Linked DNA regions of Homo sapiens: regions 2, 3 and 4 are each linked to region 1. Evidence: promoter capture Hi-C in human tissues and cell types (Jung and others, 2019). All regions are on one chromosome and are shown on one strand. The core of a region is centred on a gene start or on the middle of the fragment in contact, and the rest is flanking DNA. Distances in the headings are between cores, read along the strand shown. Region 1 holds the start of PTGIR (prostaglandin I2 receptor). Region 2 has its middle 49 kb from the start of PNMA8B. Region 3 overlaps STRN4 (striatin 4). Region 4 overlaps PRKD2 (protein kinase D2).

Region 1 (5,750 bases), core at 2,514-5,013:
CCATCTCAAACAAACAAACAAACAAACAAACAAAAAAACCAAAAACCATTCTCGGCCAGGTGCCATGGTTCATGCCAGTAATCCCAGTGCGTTGGGAGGCCAAGGTGGGAGGATCACTTGAGCCCATGAATTTGAGACCAGCCTGGACAACATAGTGGGATCCTATCTCTACAAAACAATAAAAGTATTAGCTGGGCATGGTGGTGAGCACTTGTGGTCCCAGCTATCTGGGAGGCTGAGGTGGGAAGATTGCTTAAGCCTGGGAGGTAGAGGTTGCAGTGAGCTGAGATCGTGCCACTGCACTCCAGCCTGGGTGACAGAGTGAAACCCTGTCTCAAAAAAACTAGGTTGCGCACGGTGGCTCACACCTGTAATCCCAGAACTTTGGGAGGCTGAGGCCGGCGGATCACCTGAGATCAGGAGTTTGAGACCAGCCTGGCCAACATAGTGAAATCCCATCTGTACTAAAATACAAAAATTAGCTGGGCGTGGTGGCAGGTGCCTGTAATCCCAGCTACTCGGGAGGCTGAGGCAGGAGAATCACTTGAACCTGGGAGGTGGAGGTTGTGGTGAGCCGAGATGGCACCACTGCACTCCAGCCTGGGCAAAAGAGCAAGACTCCATCTCAAAAACAAAACAAAACTACAACATAGCTGTGTGCCCATGTGCACACAGAGTCCCACGAGCTCACAATACACATATACACACAATACACACGCAAACACAATCAATGCTGAGAAAAATGCTCACTTAGGTCACATGGGCCGCACTAACTCTACAGAGAGTCACAATCCGGTTACACACCCACAGTCCCCAGCACACTAGCCTCAATCTCTCTCCCCTCCCGGGTGCTGTGTGTGCGTCCCTAATCTCAGTGGTCTCTGAGCTGTCCTTCCTCTTTTTCCCTGCTGCTTCAGGGTCCCCCTCAGGGAGGCCTGGTCCTGTTCCTCGCCATGGGTGGAGAGAGTGTGAGATGGAGGCTACGGACCCACGCCCCCAGGGCAGTTCCTTCCATAGCTCCGCCCACCCTGGAAGCTGCCCCTGGCACAACGCACCGTGGGTGATTTCTCACCCCAAGGCACCTGGCTGGGGAGTGGAACCCCCGTGTGGACCCTGCTGTGGGCTTGGCCCGGCTAGCTGGGGCCACGGCCAAGCAGGAGGCTGGGTTTCAGGGCAAGGTGACTGAGGCATGTCTGGCGCCAGTACGGACTCTGGGGAACTCAGTCCCCTCATTAGGAGGGAGTCACAGTCACTGCCACCCCTACCTGCTCCTGATGCAGGAACACAGAACCGATCCTGGGGTTGCGAGGGCTCATGACTCCTAGTGGCATCGGCGGGGAAACTGAGGCCTGAGGCCAGGCGTGGTGGCCTATAATCCCAGCACTTTGGGAAGCCGAGGTAGGCAGATCACTTGAGTCCAGGAGTTTGAGACCAGCCTGGGTGACACAGTGAAACCCTGTCTTTACAAAAATACAAAAATTAGCTAGCGTGGCAGTGGGTGCCTGTAGTCCCAGCTACTCAGGAGGCTGAGGTGGGAGGATCGCTTGAACCCCAGAGGTAGAGGTTGCAGTGAACCGAGATTGCAGCACTACACTCCAGCCTGGGTGACAGAGCAAGACCCTGTCTCAAAAACAAACGAACAGCCAGGCAAGGTGGTTCACGCCTGTAATCCCAGCACTATGGGAGGCCGAGGCGGGCGGATCACCTGAGGTCAGGCGTTCAAGACCAGCCTGGCCAACATGGTGAAACCCCACCTCTACTAAAAATATAAAAATTGGGCGCAGTGGCACATGCCTGTAATCCCAGCTACTCGGGAGGCTGAGGCACGAGAGTCGCTTGAACCCGGGAGGCGGAGGTTGCAGTGAGCTGAGATCATGCCAGTGTACTCCAGCCTGGGTGACAGAGCAAGATTCCATCTCAAAACAAAAACAAACAAGCAAAAAGAAAAACAACAACAAAAAAGAAACTGAGGCCTGGAAGGGACAAGGGTTTGACTGTGGTCCCACTGGGCATGGGAGCAGAGGGGACTTCCTGAATGTTAACCGTCCTTGTAACAGGAAGCGAGAGAGGGAGTCTCCGGGAACCAGAGGCCCCCCCGATGCCGAAACAAGATGCACGCCTGCCAGGCATCATCCTTCATTAATATGATATAACTTCCTGAGTTCCCTCTGGTCTGTCTGGGGACCTCACGGCATGAGGCGGGACAACGTGGCAGGACCTGGAGCCCACATGTACAGGCACCCCCAGAGCAGGGCTGGGGGGTCCCTTAGGGAGCCACGGTGGGGCTGGAACTTGGGCGTCCATCCTGCTGGAAGCTGCGGGTGCCAGCTGGGCAAGGGTGATAGGGAGATGGGGGGGAGGGGCAAAGGGGTTGTGGTCACACACCGGGGTACAGAGGGCAAGACGGCAGCTGCCCACAGTCCAGTCCTTGGGTTGGACACATCCCTCCTGGCCTTGGACAAGAGACACCCGCACAGCCTCTCTCCTTGTTACAAAGACCAATCTGGGATGTGCTGCAGGCCGAGGCTGGCCACCAGGTCCCTGAGGCCCGTGTTACCCCACGCACAGAGAAGGAGGCTGAAGTCTACCAGCTCCCTCTCCTCACCTGGGACCATCTCGCAGCAAGAAAAAAGGTGGTCAGATGGAAACAGGAAGCCAAGTCGAATGGATCTGAGACCGTCCCCCTGAGAAACAGCGGGGCTCAGAGAGGGTCTCTGAGGTTTTATCTGGCCCTTTTGGGCTGGGAGGCTGCCTGGGAAGCCACCGACTCCGTGGGAAGGGAGACCCGTGAACGCTGTGCGGGTAGCGGGAACATGTGGGTCTGTCACACTGGCCCGAGGCTGCAGCGGTGGTGGCTTGGCTGTGTTTGGGGAGGGTGGGGGACACATGGCAGCAATGTTGGAGCTGTGGACAGCTTCCTGTGATCAAAATATGATTCCTGAAGGTCAAGGTCACCAGAGCTTGGCCTGGGGCCTAGGGGTGCTGTGCGAGAAGTCGGACGGTGGCCCAGTGCTACCTTTCCATCATGGGCCATGGAAGTCTCCCAAGCCTGTCCCTGACAACTGGACACCAAATACACCCCTTCATGCTTTCTTCTCGGGTCTCTGCAGGGTGAGCTGGGTGCCCAGGGACAGGCTCGAGGGACTGGCATGTCTCTCTCTGGCCAAGCCTCCTTCCTCAGCTTTCTGGAAGGAGTGAATTGTGTCCAGGGACCAGAACTCTCAGTGGTGTCTGGAAAACACTACATCAGAGAGGAATTTCCTGGTCATTTCTCAATCCCTGGGCAATGTCCTCAGCCCCGGGGCCTGGAGCCCAGAATAGATCCCAGAGGCCACCCTGAGACAGCCCAGGCCAAGACCACCCCACTGAAGCCTGGTCAACTGTGCTCTTCAGGTCCCTCCTAGAGGCCCCCTACTACCCCGGGAGGCTCCAAGCCTAAGTGATGGTGACTCAGGAATTCCCCACCCAGGCCAGAGAGGGAGACACTGGGGGAGGGAGGAGACCTGTGTGTGGGGAGGTGGCAGGTGGCTCAGTGATGGGAACCAAGAGAGGATGTGGGGAGGAGAGTGGAGGCAGCGATGGGAGATGGATGTCCTGGATTGGGCGGGTGGACGGGGAGTGGGGAGTGTGCCAGGGGGCCCTCTGGAGAACAGTGAGGGAGGGCGGGGCAGAGAGAGGAAATGAAAAAGCTGGGGTGAGCAGGCAAGCTGAGGAGGGTGGGAAGGAGGGAGGGACGGAGGGAGGAGGGAAGGAGAAGCTGACACACAGACCGACACAGGCAGCGAGAGACACGAGGAGCAAAGCAAGTGAAGGCACAGACGCACGGGACAGGAGAGCCTGGGCAAGACTGGAGAGGTGCGGTGAGGGGCTGGGGATGCAGCAACACAGAGCAGGAGCAGGTAGAGGGTGTGGGGTTAGAGGGAGAAAGGTACGGGGAGGACAAGGACAAGGGAGGGGACAGAGACAGGGAGATATCAGCAAGAGACCGAGAGACAGGGAGGGAAAGAACTGGCAATGCCCGGATGTTCTCTGTCTCTTTAATGGCAGAAACAGAGCTAGAGAAGGAAAGAAACAGGAGGTGGTGGGGGGGTGGTGGGTGTCAGGCATGGTGGCTCACACCTGTAATCTCAGCACTTTGGGAAGCCAAGGTGGATGGATCACCTGAGGTCAGGAGTTCGAGACCAGCCTGACCAACATGGTGGAACCCCGTCTCTACTGAAAATACAAAAATTAGCTGGGCGTGGTAGTGGACGCCTGTAATCTCATCTACTCCAGAGGCTGGGGCAGGAGAATCGCTTGAACCCAGGAGGTGGAGGTTGCAGTGAGCCGAGATCATGCCATTGCTCTCCATCCTGGACAACAGAGTGAGACTCTGTCTCAAAAGAAACGAAAGAAAAGAAAGAGAGAAAGAGAAACAGGAAGGTGGGGAGAGACAGAGAGAGATACTGGAGAAGCCAGAGGGGAGAGGACTGCATACCCGCACACACAGGAGAACTGGGGGTTGGCTGGGAGGCCCCAGCTGCCAAAAGGACTGGCCAGCAGGGACATCTGAGTGGGCTGGGTGGTGGGGGTAGCCCTGGCTCCCTCTGACCCCCCACCTTGGGAACCCTCCAGCCCAGACCTGGGATGGCGGATTCGTGCAGGAACCTCACCTACGTGCGGGGCTCGGTGGGGCCGGCCACCAGCACCCTGATGTTCGTGGCCGGTGTGGTGGGCAACGGGCTGGCCCTGGGCATCCTGAGCGCACGGCGACCGGCGCGCCCCTCGGCCTTCGCGGTGCTGGTGACCGGACTGGCGGCCACCGACCTGCTGGGCACCAGCTTCCTGAGCCCGGCCGTGTTCGTGGCCTATGCGCGCAACAGCTCCCTGCTGGGCCTGGCCCGAGGCGGCCCCGCCCTGTGCGATGCCTTCGCCTTCGCCATGACCTTCTTCGGCCTGGCGTCCATGCTCATCCTCTTTGCCATGGCCGTGGAGCGCTGCCTGGCGCTGAGCCACCCCTACCTCTACGCGCAGCTGGACGGGCCCCGCTGCGCCCGCCTGGCGCTGCCAGCCATCTACGCCTTCTGCGTCCTCTTCTGCGCGCTGCCCCTGCTGGGCCTGGGCCAACACCAGCAGTACTGCCCCGGCAGCTGGTGCTTCCTCCGCATGCGCTGGGCCCAGCCGGGCGGCGCCGCCTTCTCGCTGGCCTACGCCGGCCTGGTGGCCCTGCTGGTGGCTGCCATCTTCCTCTGCAACGGCTCGGTCACCCTCAGCCTCTGCCGCATGTACCGCCAGCAGAAGCGCCACCAGGGCTCTCTGGGTCCACGGCCGCGCACCGGAGAGGACGAGGTGGACCACCTGATCCTGCTGGCCCTCATGACAGTGGTCATGGCCGTGTGCTCCCTGCCTCTCACGGTGAGTCCCCTCCGGAGCTGGGAGGAGTGGGGAGAGGAGGAGGGCAGCTCTGTGGGTTGTGCCCATGTCACAGATGGGGAGACTGAGGCTCAAAAGAGGTGAGACATCGTGGGCATGGTGGCTCACGCCTGTAATCCCAGCATGTAGAAAGGCCGAGGCAGGACCGGATGCGGTGGCTCACACCTGTAATCCCAGCACTTTGGGAGGCCGAGGCCGGCGGATCATTTGAGGTCAGGAGTTCGAGACCAGTCTGGCCAACATGATGAAACCCTGTCTCTACTAAAAATACAACAAATAAATAAATAAAAAGTAGCCGGACGTAGTGGCACATGCCTGAAGTCCCAGCTACTTGGGAG
Region 2 (5,331 bases), core at 1,877-4,376, 81 kb after region 1:
CCTGAGGAGTATGGCTGCAGCAGTCTTAAGCTTTGGACAGGGGCTTAGAGTGGTGGCTCATGCCTGTCATCCAAGCACTTTGGAAGGCCCAGGTGAATGGAGCCCAGGAGTTTGAGACCAGCCTGGGCAATATGTTGAGACCTAGTCTCTAAAAAAATGCAAAAATTAGCTGGGTATGGTGGCATGCACCTGTAGTCCCAGCTACTTGAGAGGCTGAGACAGGAGGCTCCCTTGAGCCTGGGAGATTGAGGCTGCAGCTACTGCACTCCAGCCTGGGGAACTGAGTGAGGTCCTGTCTCTTAACACAAACAAACAAAAACCTTTGGACAGCAAAAGCCCATCTCCTCTTCTCCTCAGGCACATGGCTGCCTGGCTGGGGACTACATTTCCCAGCCTCCCTTGAGGTTGGCTGCAGCCACATGACTGGGTCCTCCCCAGTGGCTTGCAGTTGGACATGACTTGCGCAATTTCCACTTTACCTGCTTTCAAGGAAATGTCTTGCTCTGAACTTTCTCTTTTTTCCCTTTCACCAAGTCACTCAGAGGTGGCACATTCAATTATGCAAATGCTGACAGAGCATGAGGTCAGTGGCTCTCAAAGTGGGCATCAGAATTCCCTGGAGAGTTTGTTAGGGCACAGTTTTCTGGGTCCTGCCCCCGGAGCTTCCGACTTAGTAGGTCTTGGGGGAACCTGGGAATGTGCATTTCCTATGAATTGCCAGAGGCTGCTGCTGGTCTCGGGACTACACTTTAAGCAACAATCCGAAAGAATCTGGGTTCCTGAATGATGGCCACACGCACAGCCTCACAAGGTCATTCACCCCGGAGCTACTATGGGAAAGAGAATTCAATTTGTTTTTATTGTTTAAGCTACACTATTGTCTTACAATAAGATGGCCAGTGAATTTTTGTTTCTCCTTTAGCCAGTTTGACTTAGATTTCTGTTGCTTGCAACTGAAAATGCCCTGATCATCATATGTAACATTGACTGCTTTTGATTTACTCATTCAGTAACTATTTATTGAAAATCCCACGCTGAGTGCTTTTTATTTATTTTTACTGTTTTTAATTATTTTTTTTTTATGAGATGGAGCCTAGGCTGGAGTGCAGTGGCTTGATTTCGGATCATTGCAACCTCCGCTTCCCGGGTTCAAGCAATTCTCATGCCTTAGCCTCCTGAGTAGCTGGGATTACAGGCATGCGCCACCATGCCTGGCTAATTTTTTTTTTTTTTGGATTTTTAGTAGAGACGGGGTTTTGCCATGTTGGCCAGGCTGGTCTTGAACTCCTGATCTCAGGTTATCTGCTCTCTTCTGCCTCCCAAACTGCTGGGATTATAGGCATGAGCCACCGCGCCCAGCCCCAGGTGCTTTTGAAAGCACTGGGCATACAGCAGTGAGTGAAGCAGTGAGTGAGTAAAAAGTTCCTGTCCTGTCCTTTCAGAGATTCTGATCTTTGTGTAAGGCAGCACACAATGAAGTATTTTAAAGACAAAATATCAGCAAATTCTCAAAGCAACTTTGAGAAGCAGACATCATTTTGAAATCCCATTCTACAGATAAGTGCGCTGAGGCTGCAGTAGCAAAGCTGGAGTTTGAACCTAGATCTGTGCGAGTCCAAAGGCTAAATTCTCTCTCTCTCTCTCTTTTTTTTTTTTTTTTTTTTGAGACAGAGTCTTGCTCTGTTGCCCAGGCTGGAGTACAGTAGTGCGATCTCAGTTCACTGCCACCTCTGCCTCCTGGGTTCAAGCGATTCTCCTCCCTCAGCCTCCTGAGTAGCTGGGATTACAGGTGCCTGCCACCATGCCCAGCTGATTTTTGTATTTTTAGCAGAGATGGGGTTTCACCATGTTGGCTAGGTTGGTCTTGAACTCCTGACCTCAAGTGAGCCTGCCTCGGCCTCCCAAAGTGCTGGGATTATAGGCACGAGCCACCACACATGACTCAAAGGCTAAACTCTTGAGAGTGGGCCATGCTGCCCCAAGAAGCTCCACTGGATTTATTTGAAGGTCCTTGCCAAATCAGTTGGGGAAAAAAAGGCAGATTCAGCCCATGGATCCTTAAGTACCACTCGAAGAGTGGCATGCTTTTCCCAAATGTCACCTTTTGTCTTTAAGGCAAAGGTGGTGCCAGATCTTCAGCTCTCATGTCTCCTGCACAAACTCTCCCAGGCGTGAGAAGAGACTCCACTCTGCAGAAACTCTGTCTCTAAGGGGGAAGTGACAGTCAGAGAAGGGAACAGGGATATTACTGAGGCCAGAAGGCCCCTCTCCCCTCAGTGAGGCCCACGCTCGTGCCCAAAGCCTGTCTGTCTTCCTAAATAATGCAGTGTGGAAGAGTAGAGGCTTTGCAGCCAAGCAGACAGGATTTCATAACCCTGGTTCCAGTACTTCCCAGTGTGTGATCTTGGACCATCAACTGGGCCTCTGAACCTCAATCTCCTCCTCTATAAAAGTGGCACAATGGCCGCAGGCGGTGGCTCACGCCTGTAATCCCAGCATTTTGGGAGGCCGAGGTGGGCGGATCACTTGAGGTCAGGAGTTTGAGACCAGCCTGGCCAACGTGGCGAAACACTGTCTCTACTAAAAATACAAAAATTAGCCGGGCGTGGTGGTGGGCACCTGTAATCTCAGCTATTCAGGAGGCTGAGGCAGGAGAATCACTTGAACCCAGGAGGCGGAGGTTGCAGTGAGCCGAGATAGTGCCATTGCACTCCAGCCTGGGCAACAAGAGCAGAACTCTATCTCAAATAAAACCCAGAAAACCAAAAAAAAAAAAAAAAAAAAAAACCCAAAACAAAACAAAAAGAAAAAACAAAAACAACAACAACAAAAAATGGCACAGTAATAGCTTAATTCCCAAGCTTGTTCAGGATTTTGTGGGTCAGGAATGTGAAAAGGGTTTGACTGGATGTTCATTTCTGTTCCACGTGGCATCATGTGATGAGGGCTGGAGGACCCACCTCCAAGATGGCTTCTTCACTCCCATGTCTGGAAGCTTCAATTCTCCTGGGCCTTCTCACAGCTCCATGCTCTTAGGGGAGCTGCAATTCTTTTTTTATTATTTATTTATTTATTTATTTGAGACGGAGTTTCGCTCTGTCGCCTAGGCTGGAGTGCAGTGGCCGCGATCTGGGCTCACTGAAAGCTCCACCTCCTGGGTTCACACCATTCTCTTGCCTCAGTCTCCCGAGTAGCTGGGACTGCAGGCGCCTGCCACCACGCCCGGCTAATTTTTGTATTTTTAGTAGAGACGGGGTTTCACCGTGTTAGCCAGGATGGTCACGATCTCCTGACCTCGTGATCCGCCGCCTTGGCCTCCCAAAGTGCTGGGATTACAGGCGTGAGCCACCGCGCCCGGCTGGGGAGTTGCAATTCTTACACAGTAGCCTGGGAGCCAAAGAGATCACGACGGAATCTGCTGGTTCCCTTAAAATGTAGATCCAGGCCTGGCGGTGTCACTTGTTTGTTTGTTTGTTTGTTTGTTTAGACAGGGTCTCGTTCTGTCACCCAGGCTGGAGTGCAGCGGCGCCATCATAGCTCACCGCAGCCTCTACCTCCTAGGCTCAAGGGATCCTCTTGCCTCAGCCTCCCGAGTAGCTGGGACTACAGGTGCGGGCCACCACGCCAGCCTATTTTTAAAAGTTATATTTTTGGCCGGGAGTGGTGGCTCACGCCTGTAATCCCAACAGTTTGGGAGGCGGAGGTGGGTGGAAGTCGGGAGTTCAAGACCAGCCTGACCAACATGGATATACCCTGTCTCTACTAAAAATACAAAATTAGCCACGTGCGGTGGCGGACCCCTGTCATTCCAGCTACTCGGGAGGCTGAGGCAGGAGAATCGCTTGAACCCAGGAGGCGGAGTCTGTGGTGAGCCGAGATCACGCCATTGCACTCCAGCCTGGGCGACAAGAGCGAAACTCCGTCTCACAACAAAACAAAAAAGTTATTTTTAGTAGAGTTGGGGTCTTTCTGTGTTGCCCAGGTTGGTCTTGCAGTCTTGGGATCAAGCGATCCGCCCACCTCTGCTTCTCGGTGTTGGAATTACAGGCGTGAGCCGCCATGCCCAGCACAGTGTCACATCTGTCATATTCTATGGGTCAAAGCAGTCAAGGGTTCTTTCTCAATCAGACTAAGACCAACAGGAACAAGCTTATTGTATTAATTTGCTAGGGCAGCCTTAACAGACAAGAAGGGAGGTGAGTCGCCTTTTAGTTTAAGTAGATACGGTCATGCTATTCTCTAATTGGCCACCAGATGGCGCGCTGGACTTACTATTAGTACAGTTTGTAATTGCCCTTCCGAGAGTGGCCACCGCCACTCAAGCGACTGGACACTGGACTAAGTGCTTCTGTTAATTTGGATAAGACAAGACTCTCACTTTCTTTGATAAAATATAAATCTAGAAGAGCCCTAGGCTTTTATTGCATCATGATCATGGAAGGAGAGAAATGATCCTTTTCTGATTTGCCAGAGAAAACCAACCAGTATTTATTCTTTAGGAAATACAGAGATGCTATTTAACCTCCTGGTCACCATAGCAACAAATAATCAAGGAAGACAACCAATCAGAATGCAGGTTTCTTTGGGAGGTTCTTTTTTTTTTTTTTCAGATATTGCAACAATTTCTAAAAAAATCTTAGACTCTTTTGTTCAAATTATCCTTTCAAGGAAAGACACAAATGAACAGAGTTAACAAATGAGGCTGGTAACAGGAAAATTAACTGGAGCTCCTGGCTGCACGGGAGAACAGAATGAATGTTTAGGGTATGTTCTCAATGTGCCACTCTATTAAAATTGATTTTTTTTTTTTTTTTTTTTTTTTTTGTAGACAGAGTCTTGCTCTGTCACCCAGGCTGGAGTGCAGTGGCGTGATCTCGGTTCAATGCAAACTTCGCCTCCCAGGTTCAAGCGATTTTCCTGCCTCAGCCTCCCGAGTAGCAGGGATGATAGGTGCCTGCCACCACGCCCGGCTAATTTTTTTGTATTTTTAGTAGGGATGGAGTTTCACCATGTTGGCCAGGCTGGTCTCAAACTCCTGACTTCAAGTGATCCGCCCTCCTCGGCCTCCTAAAGTGAAAAAACTAATTATTTAGAGCAATTTCATGATGCAGAATAGAACCCCTTCCTATACAGCTGCAAGAGAGAACGGGCTTTTTTTTTTTTATGTTTGAAAGCACTGACTTTGCTAAGCGTGGTGGCTCATGCCTGTAATCCCAACACTGGGAATCTGAGATGGGAGGACCACTTAAGCCCAGGAGGCCAAGGCTGCAGTGAGCTATGTTTGCACCACTGCACTCCAGCCTGGGCAATGGAGTGAGACCCTGTCTCAAA
Region 3 (4,652 bases), core at 1,061-3,560, 120 kb before region 1:
CATAGCAAGACCTCATCTCTACAAAAAAGTACAAAAATTAGCCGGGTGTGGTGACATGCGCCTGTAGTCCCAGCTACTCAGGAGGCTGAGGTGGGAGGATTGCTTAAACCCCGGAGGTTGAGGCTGCGGTGAGCCATGATTGCACCACTGCACTCCAGCCTGGGCAAAAGAGTGAGATCCTGTCTCAAAAAAAAGCATTTTGTTCATAGGATGAGTAAAGACCCTCCAGTAACTCTCCCCCTGCCCTCACTTGTGGTGGCTGAGGCTTGGGGCTGGGATGGGAGCAGAATCCTTATGTAACTGCTCTCACTTCTGTCCCACTCTCTACTTCCGAAGCTCTTTCCCAGCATACATCTCATCAGATCTTCACAATGCCCTGTGATGTAGGCAGAGGCAGTGTCATTACCTCACTCAGCAATAACGGTACCAGCTGCAATTTAGTGAGCACATACCATGTCTGGGGCGCTGTATCAAGTACTGTAGATACGAGCTGTCATTTAATTCTTGCAGCATTCTGGGAGGATAAAGGATATTCCCCCTACCTTTAAAAAAAATCAGGAGAGGAAATGGAGGTTTTGAGAGGGTGATTTATCTAGGATCCCAGCAGATGAGCAGAAGGGCTGGTCTGTGGTGGACCTTTTGTTTATTTATTTATTTATTTATTTATTTTTATTTTTATTTTTTTGAGACAGAGTCTCACTCTGTCACCCAGGGTGGAGTGCAGTGGCATGATCTTGGCTCATTGCAACCACTGCCTCCCAGGTTCAAGCGATTCTCCTGCCTCAGCCTCGCAAGTAGCTGGGATTACAGGTGTGCACCACCACCACGCCTGGCTGATTTTTGTATTTTTAGTAGAGATGGGGTTTTGCCACGTTGGTCAGGCTGGTTTCGAACTCCTGGCCTCAAGAGATCCACCTGCCTCGGCCTCCCAAAGTGCTGGGATTACAGGCATAAGCCACCATGCCCGACCGTCGGTAGACTTTTAAGCCCATGTTCTGTACCTCTCTGCTACCCAGTACAGTTGAGAAAATTGGTTCAGGCAAGCATAGTGGCCTCCCCAGGGTCACCCAAGCAGTCATAGCAGAGCTTGGACTGAATCTTGGCCTCTGGGACTTTGCACCAGTGCACCGCACAGCACCCACCACACCATCTTCTCATCCTGGAGGCTGATGAGAGAAAAGATGTTTATCCCCTCACTTACTGACCCTTCTTGGAGTTTGAGAGGAACTTGTGTCTGGCATGGTACCAGCACTGTCACTTTGTACTTTTGTTTTCTTTTATTCTGTTAAGTTAGTAAAAATTCAGACATCTCAGAGGGGTGTGTGTGTGTGTGTGAGTGTGTGTATACACATATATATGTAAGTGAAAAAGGAAAGTTCCTTCTCTTCGTCCCTTTCCTGCTCTTCTCTCCTGAGAGAGAAGAGTTATTGTGCTTATGTAATAGATGAACTACTGCTGTATGTATCATTTTGTGACATAATAATCTGTTTTGGTTTTCCTTTCATATCAGCACAGAGAACTCTTTCTTTTTGATAGCTGCATAGCGTCCCACGGGATGTTTGCACCATAGCTGATTGAGTTTGACCCTGGTTGGTGGACTTTTAGATTTTTTCTAGTTTTTCCCCCATCAGACATGGCTGCAGTGAGAACCCCTTATTCCTGTGCAAGAATGAAGCAGAACAGATGAGTGGAATAGTAGAATGGATGTGTTTATGAAACAGTGATTGGGCTGGGCGCGGTGGCTCGCGCCTGTAATCCCAGCACTTTGAGAGGCCAAGGCAGGTGGATCACAAGGTCTGGAGTTCAAGACCAGCGTGGCCGATATGGTGAAACCCCACCTCTACTAAAAATACAGAAATTAGTCGGGCGTGGTGGTGGGCGCCTGTAGTCCCAGCTACTCGGGAGGCTGAGGCAGGAGAATCGCTTGTACCCGGGAAGCAGAAGTTGCAGTGAGCCGAGATCACACCACTGCACTCCAGCCTTGGTGACAGAGCGAGATGCCATCTCAAAAAAAATAAAAATAAAAAAAGAAACAGTGAATGACTCTGCCACATTGACCCACCAGTTTACTCTCCCATCAGCGGCACCTCTTTTACACACCTTTACTTGAACACTTAGTGCTAACAGACGGTGTGACTTCCCCTGTGAGATCCCTTAAGAGCTAGGCAGTGTCAGATTTTCCTGATGGACTCTGAATAACTTTTCTCTGAAGAGCTTAATACAGCTGCTCCTAGCAGAAGACCTGCCGTGCGACCCTGCTTGGTACCTGTGTGTTGAATGGCAGAGAAGGCAGCCCCCAGGGAGGTCCTGCCAGTAGTCACCATAAGTTTGGAGCAGGAAGGTGGCGGAGCTGCAGTCTGATAATGAGCAGGCATTTGCTAGGTGGGGGATTCTGAGAAGTAAGTAACGTGGTTTCTGCCCATCCGAAACTTCCAGGCTGGCAGAGGAAGCTTGTTTGTGCAGGGGACCGCAGAGCTGTAGATGTTCATGCACAGTTGATTGTGTGGCTCTGCCCCTGTTCTGTGGCAACTCTGAGAGGGGAAGCTTTTTGAGGATGGGAGGGACCTTTTAATGAGGGATCTGAACTGGAGATTTGTATAGGAGCAGCGACAGGGACCTGCAGTGAGTGCGGTGCCAGCAGAGAATGTGCGGAGCTGCCCCTGCCCACTTCAGCTTCCTGGGGGCCCATTCCTGCCAGCAGCTGCTGAAGCTTGGGAAGGAGGCCCTTAGGAGATGCAGGGCTAGATGGCACGAAACGGGGACTCTTCCCAGCTAGCTGGGACAGGAAGCAGCGAATTCAGAGAGGCATCAGCTCCTGGGAGGACTGAATTGCTGGGACTCCTCCGAAGCCTTTAGATGTCGCCTTGCTGGGAATAGCTGGAGGGGCGGAGAGGCAGTAGCTGCCAGGTATCAGAAGGTTTTGGGAGCGCATGCTCTGCGGCTCTGGCTAGAGGGAGTGGCAGTGGGTGGATATGGTGAGCGGCACTTCCAGATCCCCGACCGACCCTCAGGCCTACCTTGGCCCTCGCAGACCAGACAGCCCGTGGGGGCTGCTGGCGTTTGCAGCGAGGGAGAGACTGGCCACTGACGCTTCCCGTTTTTGGTGGGTTTCCACCTCCCTGAGATGCTCCAACCATGTCTTTCTGGTTCTCTTTCCAGAGGCACTGGGAAAGGGACAGCAAAGCAGAGTGGGCAGCTGAGACCCTCACATCCTCATTAGGAGGAGGGAGACCACAGCTCGATGAGGCAGCAGAGGGATGAAGGGGGAACCCAGCCAGTGACAGGTCTGGTTGGGATGCCCAACTCCACCTCCTGCCCCCACAGATAGACCACTACTGTGTCCACTGCCCCGGCCTAGTCCAAGCCACTACCGTTCTGTCCTGGGATTTCTGGGACTGCCCTCATCTGTGATGGGGGTCTCTGTGTCCAGCTCTGCCGCTCTCCTGCTCCCTCCCTCTAGTCTCCCTCCAGAACTCCCTCCAGTCAGTTCTCCATGTTTTAGCTGGAGCTGCCTTTATAACATGCGAATCGGTTACCTCTCTGTACTTAAAACCCTTCCATGGCTTCACTGAGCCTTTTACAGGTTCTGAAGCAGCCATCCTGGCCTTTTTTAGAGTTCCTTAAGCCCACCATGCAGCTCTTGTCTCCGTCCTCTGCCAGCAGGGCCCTTCCCTCCCCTGGCTAACTTCTCTTCAGCTTCAGGCCTTAGCTGAATTGTCGCCTCTTGTCCCTCTTCCCATAGCGTCCTTCGCTCCCGCAATGGGGTCCTAGTCACATTGCATGTGAGTTGCTGCTCATGCCTGTCTCCTGCATGGGACTGAGCCCTGTGGGTGCAGGAACCACATGGCTCCTCTGTTATTCCCCAGCGCCTTACTGGGGCACCTGATGTGTGTGGGCAGTCACCAAACAGTGGCAGGTATTGACCAAGGTGTAGGTTCCCGGCAGGCTGAACTGCCCCTGGGAGGTTGAGGGATCAATCACCAAACCCCAGGAGGGAAGGGAGGAGAGTGAGGAGGAAAGTCAGGACTTGTCTTCGGTGGTCGGTCTGCCTCTCCTCACACCTTCTCCAGTGATTCAGAGAGTAGATTTGGGGGACTGAGAAGATACACAAAGGACAGAAACTCATGCTTCAGAGATGCTGATGTCATATAAGTAGTTTCCCTGTCTGGCCTTGGATGTTTATATACATATGTGTTGGTAAAAAGTGTTAAAAAGGAAAAAAATTTCCCATTCTTGAAGCGGACAGATGAGTTTTCTTTTCTATAAGGTAACTGGTGACATGTATTTCTTTTTTTTTTTGAGACGAAGTCTGGCTCTGTCGCCCAGGCTGGAGTGCAGTGGCACGATCTTGGCCCACTGCAATCTCCACTTCCCAGGTTCAAGCGATTCTCCTGCCTCAGCCTCCCGAGTAGCTGGGACTACAGGTGTGTACCACCATGCCTGGCTAAGTTTTTTGTATTTTTAGTAGAGATGGGGTTTCACCATGTTGGCCAGGCTGGTCTTGAACTCCTGACCTCAAGTCATCTGCCCACCTCAGCCTCCCAAAGGGCTGGGATTACAGGCGTGAGCCACTGTGCCTGGCCAATCCACAGACATTTCTAGTTGATCTGGGGTCTCCAAGGGATCCTACCTCCCGTAAGGAACTGGGCCCA
Region 4 (5,629 bases), core at 1,636-4,135, 71 kb before region 1:
TTCCTGCGGTGCCTCCCAACCCAAGCAGCCTGAAGCCGCAGGTTCCCTTTCTCCCACGTCTTTCCTGGGAATGCCTAGTAACACCGTCATACACTGTCAAGAGTTGGACCTTGAGGGATTGGGGGTGGCGGGTGTGGGGAGAGGCAGCCCATTTCACAGATGGGGAAACTGAGTCTCAGGCAAAGAGATGTGATCAAGGCCACCCAGGTTCTGATCTAGCACAGGGATCCAGAGATTGTTGGTTCCAGAGTTGAGCAAGTCACTTAATCTCTCAAATCTCAAACTCCTGACCTCAAGTGATCCCCCCACTTCTGCCTCCCAAAGTGTTGGGATTACAGGCATGAGCCACCATGCCCAGCAGGCCACTTAATCTCTGTAGACCTTCCTTACTGTACTAACAGCATCTGCACAAATGAGGGAGGTGAGGCCCAGAGAGGTTGAATCACTTACCCAGTGTCACACAGCTGGCTCCACAATTGCTGGACTAAATACCAATTAGCACTTACTGGAGGTCCTCTGTATGCCAGGCACTGTACTAAGCTCCGTAGAAAGGTTTCCATTCCTCATAGCATCCCCTTTGGGTGGACAAACTGAGGCATGAAGAGGTTAGGTAATTTGCTAGGCAGCCTGACTTCAGAAAGGCCTACTACAGAAGCCCTCTCAAGAATCTCCTTCTGGGCCAGCGTGGTGGCTCACACCTGTAAGCACTCTGGGAGGCCGAGGCGGATGGATCTCGTGAAGGGATTCTAAGGGTGGGACTAGGGGCAGGAGTTAGGGAAGGAGTTGAGGCAAAGAGTTCGAGACCAGCCTGGCCAACATGGTGAAACCTCATCACTACTAAAAATACAAAAATTAGCCAGGGGTGGTGGCGTGCACCTAATGGTCACCGTGATTGTCCCGGCCACTCAGGAGGCTGAGGCACGAGAATCGCTTGAACCCGGGAGGCAGAGGTTGCAGTGAGCCGAGATCGCACCACTGCATTCCAGCCTGGGTGACAGAGCGAGCCTCTTAAAAACAAACAAAAAGCAACTCCCGGGTGTGTGTTGGGGGGAAAATGTCAAAACAAACCAAACAAACAAAAACAGTCCCCAACTCCCTAGTTTCCCAGAGATGCCCCCTGCATTCCCAAGCAGCATGGTCACTTTCTGCATGTGACTTCTCACCCCTTCCTCTTCCTTCGCAGCTCCCTGGGGTACATCCCCCTAATGAGGGTGGTGCAATCGGTGCGACACACGACGCGGAAATCCAGCACCACGCTGCGGGAGGGTTGGGTGGTTCATTACAGCAACAAGGACACGCTGGTGAGTGGCCGGGGCGGGGCCGGGTACGGCGGAGCGAAGGCTGGAAGAGGGGCGGCTCAGCTTGAGTAGGCGGGGCTAGGTGGGTGGGGCTGGAGCTAGGCGCGAGCGGGGCCAGTAGTGGGCTGGGCCGTGCTGGAGGCGGGGCTAGAATTAGAAGTGTGGGCTGTAAGGGTGGGACTACGGGCAGGAGTTAGGGAAGACCCGGGGCTCAGGGCAAGGTCAGGGGCGGGGCTAGAGTTAGGGGAGGAGCTTGGCTGGAGGAAGAGGGCTAAGTGGGGGCGAGTCTGGGGTTAGGGCGTGGGGGCTGGGCTAGGGTTAAGGCTAGGGGCGGGGCTGGGGTTAGGGCGTGTGGTGGGGTGGGGTTACGGCGTGGGGTAGGTGCTAGAGTTACGGCGTGCACGTGGTGCTCCAGGCACCTGGAGCCCCAAGCAGCTCCACGGGATAGGGACTGGGCAGGAAAGTCTGGCGGTTCACGTGACTCTTCAAACATCTCTGCAGAGAAAGCGGCACTATTGGCGCCTGGACTGCAAGTGTATCACGCTCTTCCAGAACAACACGACCAACAGATACTATAAGGTAAGCCTCCGGGCTTTCAGCTCCCTCGGACTTCCCGCTGTGCCCACAAACTTTCCCACACCTCCTCCTACCCCCAGTTACTCCAGACAGATCCTGCAAATCACACCCTCTGCCCACCCCCAGCCTCCCTGCTTCCAGCTCATCAGCAAGTGCTGCCCATCCGATTCTGGCCCCACCACTTTCCAGCCAGGGGGACTCCGGGCAGGTTCCCTTACTTCTCAGTGCCTCACGCTTCTCACCTGCAAAATGCCTCAAATGCTAATACTCACCTCAGGGCTGGTGCGAGAATTCAAAGAGCCAATCCACTAAACCAATTGGCTTAAGGCGTGGTATATATTAAGCTCCCAGTAATTCTAAGGCTGTTCTCACTATTCCTTTATTTTTTGTTATTTATTTATTTTTTGAGACAGAGTCTCACTCTGTCGCCCAGCTGGAGTGCAGTGGCGCGATCTCGGCTCACTGCAACCTCCGCTTCCCGGGTTCAAGCGATTCTCCTGCCTCAGCCTCCCACCCTAGGACTACAGGTGAATGCCACCACACCCAGCTAATTTTTGTATTTTTAGTAGAGACGGGGTTTCACCATGTTGGACAGGATGGTCTTGATCTCTTGACCTCATGATCTGCCCCCCTCGGCCTCCCAAAGTGCTGGGATTACAGGCATGAGCCACCGCACCCGGCCTCACTATTTCTTTATAATTAATGTATTGCATTGTGTGCGTATTCGTCACCACCTCCCATGCCCACACTGTGTCCCAGCCACTGTCTTCCACCTGGATGGTTTCAGCCTTCTCCTTGCAGGGTCCTTGCTTCTGACCTCACAACCTCTGTCATTTCCCCCACAGCCAGGGGAGTCTTCATTAAAACCGTCAAACCCCCCAGTGGCTCCCATTGTCTTAGAGTAATAAAACCTGGACTCCAGCTGTTACCTGCCCTGGAGCGTCTTCCTTGAACTTTCCATGGCTGGTTCCTTATCATCTTCCCATTTTGCTCAGACCACACCATCTAAAATGCTGTCCTTGGCCAGGCGTGGTGGCTCACGCCTGTAATCCCAGCGCTTTCAGAGGCCGAGGTGGGCGGATCACTTGAGATCATGAGTTCGAAACCAGCCTGGCCAATATGGTGAAACCTTGTCTGTACTAAAAATACAAAAATTAGCTGGGCATGGTGGCGGGTGCCTATAACCCCAGCTACTTGGGAGGCTGAGGCAGGAGAATTGCTTGAACCTGGGAGGTGGAGGTTGCAGTGAGCTGAGATCGCGTCACTGCACTCCTGCCTGGGCAACAGAGCAAGACTCCATCTCAAAAAAATAAAATAAAATAAAATATAATGCTGTCCTCACCATGCCCCCCCGACGTGTCCATGTCATCACCTGGTTTTATGGGCTGCCTAAGTCATTCATTCTTTCCTCTCTCCTACCTCCCTCCTTCCTCTTTTGACACGTTTCCCACCCCATAGTCCCTGTGCCTTCTGTCCCGCCTGGGTCCCCTCAGCCTCCTTCCTGGTTCTCTGTCTCCATCTCATTCTATTCCATCTGCCCTCCGCACACAAGCGGATGATGCTCAAAAGCCTTCAGTGGCTTCCTAGGGCCCTTGGACAAAGCCCAGGCTCTTCCTTGTGGCCCGCAAAGCCCTGTGTGGCCTCATTTCCTCCATTTATTATCAAACGTTTATTTTTGAGACGGAGTCTCGCTCTGTCACCCAGGCTGGAGTGCAGTGGCGCGATCTTGGCTCACTGCAACCTCCGCCTCCGGGGTTCAAGTGATTCTTCTGCCTCAGCCTCCCAAGTAGCTAGGATTATAGGTGTGCCACCACGCCTGGCTAATTTTTGTATTTTTAGTAGAGATGGGCTTTCACCATGTTGGTCAGGCGGGTCTCGAACTCCTGACTTTGTGATCCGCCTGCCTTGGCCTCCCAAAGTGTTGGGATTACAGGCATGAGCCACCATGCCCAGCCCATTTATTTATTTTGAGACAGGCTCTTGCCCTGTCTCCCAGGTGCAGTGGCATGATCATGGCTCACTGTAACCTCTGCCTCCCTGGCTCAAATGATTCTCCCACCTCCACAGTAGCTGGGATTACAGGTGCGCACCACCACACCTGGCTAGTTTTTTTATTTTTTGTAGAGATGGGGGTCTCATTGTGTTGCTCTGGCTGGTCTCAAACTCCTGGGCTCCAGCGATCTGCCTGCCTTGGCCTCCCAAAGTGCTGGGATTACAGGCTTGTGGCACCATGCCTAATTTTTAAATTTTTTGTAGAGCTGGGGTCTCACTGTGTTGCCCAGGCTGGTCTTGAACTCCTGGGCCATCTGCCCACCTCGGCCTCCCAAAGTGCTGGGAGTACAGGCACGAGCCACCACATCCGGCCATCAAATGTTTATCAAGCTTTTACTATGTCCAGGCACCGCCCATGTGATGGGGATACAGCTTGGCTTTTGAGCATAGCCTTTCCTTAGGGCCTTTGCACATGCTGTTCCCCTACTCCTTGCCAACTGGCTGCTTCTTACCTTTCTGGTCTCTGCTTCAATATCACTTCTGCCAGTAATTAGTATTATTATTATTATTTTTGAGACGGAATCTCACTCTGTCGCCCAGGCTGGAGTGCAGTGGTGCGATCTTGGCTCATTACAACCACCGCCTCCCAGGTGCAAGCGATTTTCCTGCCTCAGCCTCCCGATTAGCTGGGATTACAGGCGCACACCACCACGCCTGGCTAATTTTTGTATTTTCAGTAGAGACGGGATTTTGCCATGTTGGCCAGGCTGGTCTCGAACTCCTGACCTCAAGTGAGCTGCCCACCTCGGCCTTCCAAAGTGTTGGGATTACAGGCATGAGCCACCGCACCTGGCCTCTGCCAGTAATTATAAAAGAACAGTGAGAACAGGCTTAGAATTACTGGGAACTTGTCTGACCACTGTGCAAACCAGGCCCATCCCTATCAACATGGATCCCGTGTATCCTTCTGGGTAAGCACTAGAATTCCAAGGTCTGCCTGGCATCCTCACCTGTGCTGGTTCCACGTCCTGCAGGAAATTCCGCTGTCAGAAATCCTCACGGTGGAGTCCGCCCAGAACTTCAGCCTTGTGCCGCCGGGCACCAACCCACACTGCTTTGAGATCGTCACTGCCAATGCCACCTACTTCGTGGGCGAGATGCCTGGCGGGACTCCGGGTGGGCCAAGTGGGCAGGGGGCTGAGGCCGCCCGGGGCTGGGAGACAGCCATCCGCCAGGCCCTGATGCCCGTCATCCTTCAGGACGCACCCAGCGCCCCAGGCCACGCGCCCCACAGTAAGTCCTCCCACCTCGGGTCCTTGAGAGAATAGATCTAGATGGGTGGGGCACGGTTCTGGGGAATGGAAGGGCCAAAGAGGAAAGTGGGCAATGGTGGGGTTGAGAACGCAGCTTCTGGACTCAGCAGGCCTGGGTTCAAACTCTGTTAATCACTCCTGTTAATCCCAGCGCTTTGGGAAGCCAAGGAGGGAGGATCACTTGAGGCCAGGAGTTCAAGACCAGCCTGGGCAACATAATGAGATTCCATCTCTACAAAAAATAAAAACAATTAGCCAGGTGTGGTGGTGCACACCTGTAGTTCCAGGTACTTGGAAGGCTGAGGCAGGAGAATTGCTTGAGCCTGGGAGTAGTGAGTCATGATTGCATCACTGCACTCCAGTCTGGGTGACAGAGCAAGACTCTGTCTCCAAAACAGAAAAAACAACAACAACAAAAATCCACAACAAATCTCTGTTAAGCTCCTGGCC

Evidence for each region. Contacts are between HindIII fragments. The study calls those that stand out against the background at their distance.
Region 2: a fragment that was not itself captured here is called in contact with the fragment with the promoter of PTGIR in region 1 in 9 of the 25 tissues and cell types used here (IMR-90 fibroblasts, adrenal gland, dorsolateral prefrontal cortex and 6 more).
Region 3: a contact is called between a fragment that was not itself captured here and the fragment with the promoter of PTGIR in region 1, in 5 of the 25 tissues and cell types used here (dorsolateral prefrontal cortex, lymphoblastoid cells, small bowel and 2 more).
Region 4: a contact is called between a fragment that was not itself captured here and the fragment with the promoter of PTGIR in region 1, in 2 of the 25 tissues and cell types used here (mesenchymal stem cells and spleen).

Annotation. Positions count from the first base shown.
Region 1 is chr19:46,623,102-46,628,851 of GRCh38, reverse strand. PTGIR (prostaglandin I2 receptor) reads left to right here and starts at 3,763. Exons shown (of 3, transcript NM_000960.4): 1 at 3,763-3,855; 2 at 4,615-5,394. The coding sequence starts at 4,627. RefSeq lists an enhancer at 3,048-3,548. The HindIII fragment of the contact is 28,599 bases long and covers 1-5,750 here.
Region 2 is chr19:46,541,789-46,547,119 of GRCh38, reverse strand. It overlaps the pseudogene PPP5D1P. Among named protein-coding and RNA genes, the nearest start is that of PNMA8B, 49 kb to the right of the region's middle. The HindIII fragment of the contact is 3,360 bases long and covers 1,447-4,806 here.
Region 3 is chr19:46,739,936-46,744,587 of GRCh38, reverse strand. All of the region lies in intron 1 of STRN4 (striatin 4), which reads left to right. Among named protein-coding and RNA genes, the nearest start is that of FKRP, 3.8 kb to the left of the region's middle. The HindIII fragment of the contact is 3,275 bases long and covers 673-3,947 here.
Region 4 is chr19:46,693,405-46,699,033 of GRCh38, reverse strand. It overlaps PRKD2 (protein kinase D2), which reads left to right. Exons shown (of 18, transcript NM_016457.5): 8 at 1,184-1,301; 9 at 1,800-1,877; 10 at 4,901-5,159. Among named protein-coding and RNA genes, the nearest start is that of MIR320E, 13 kb to the left of the region's middle. RefSeq lists an enhancer at 963-1,463. The HindIII fragment of the contact is 5,541 bases long and covers 115-5,629 here.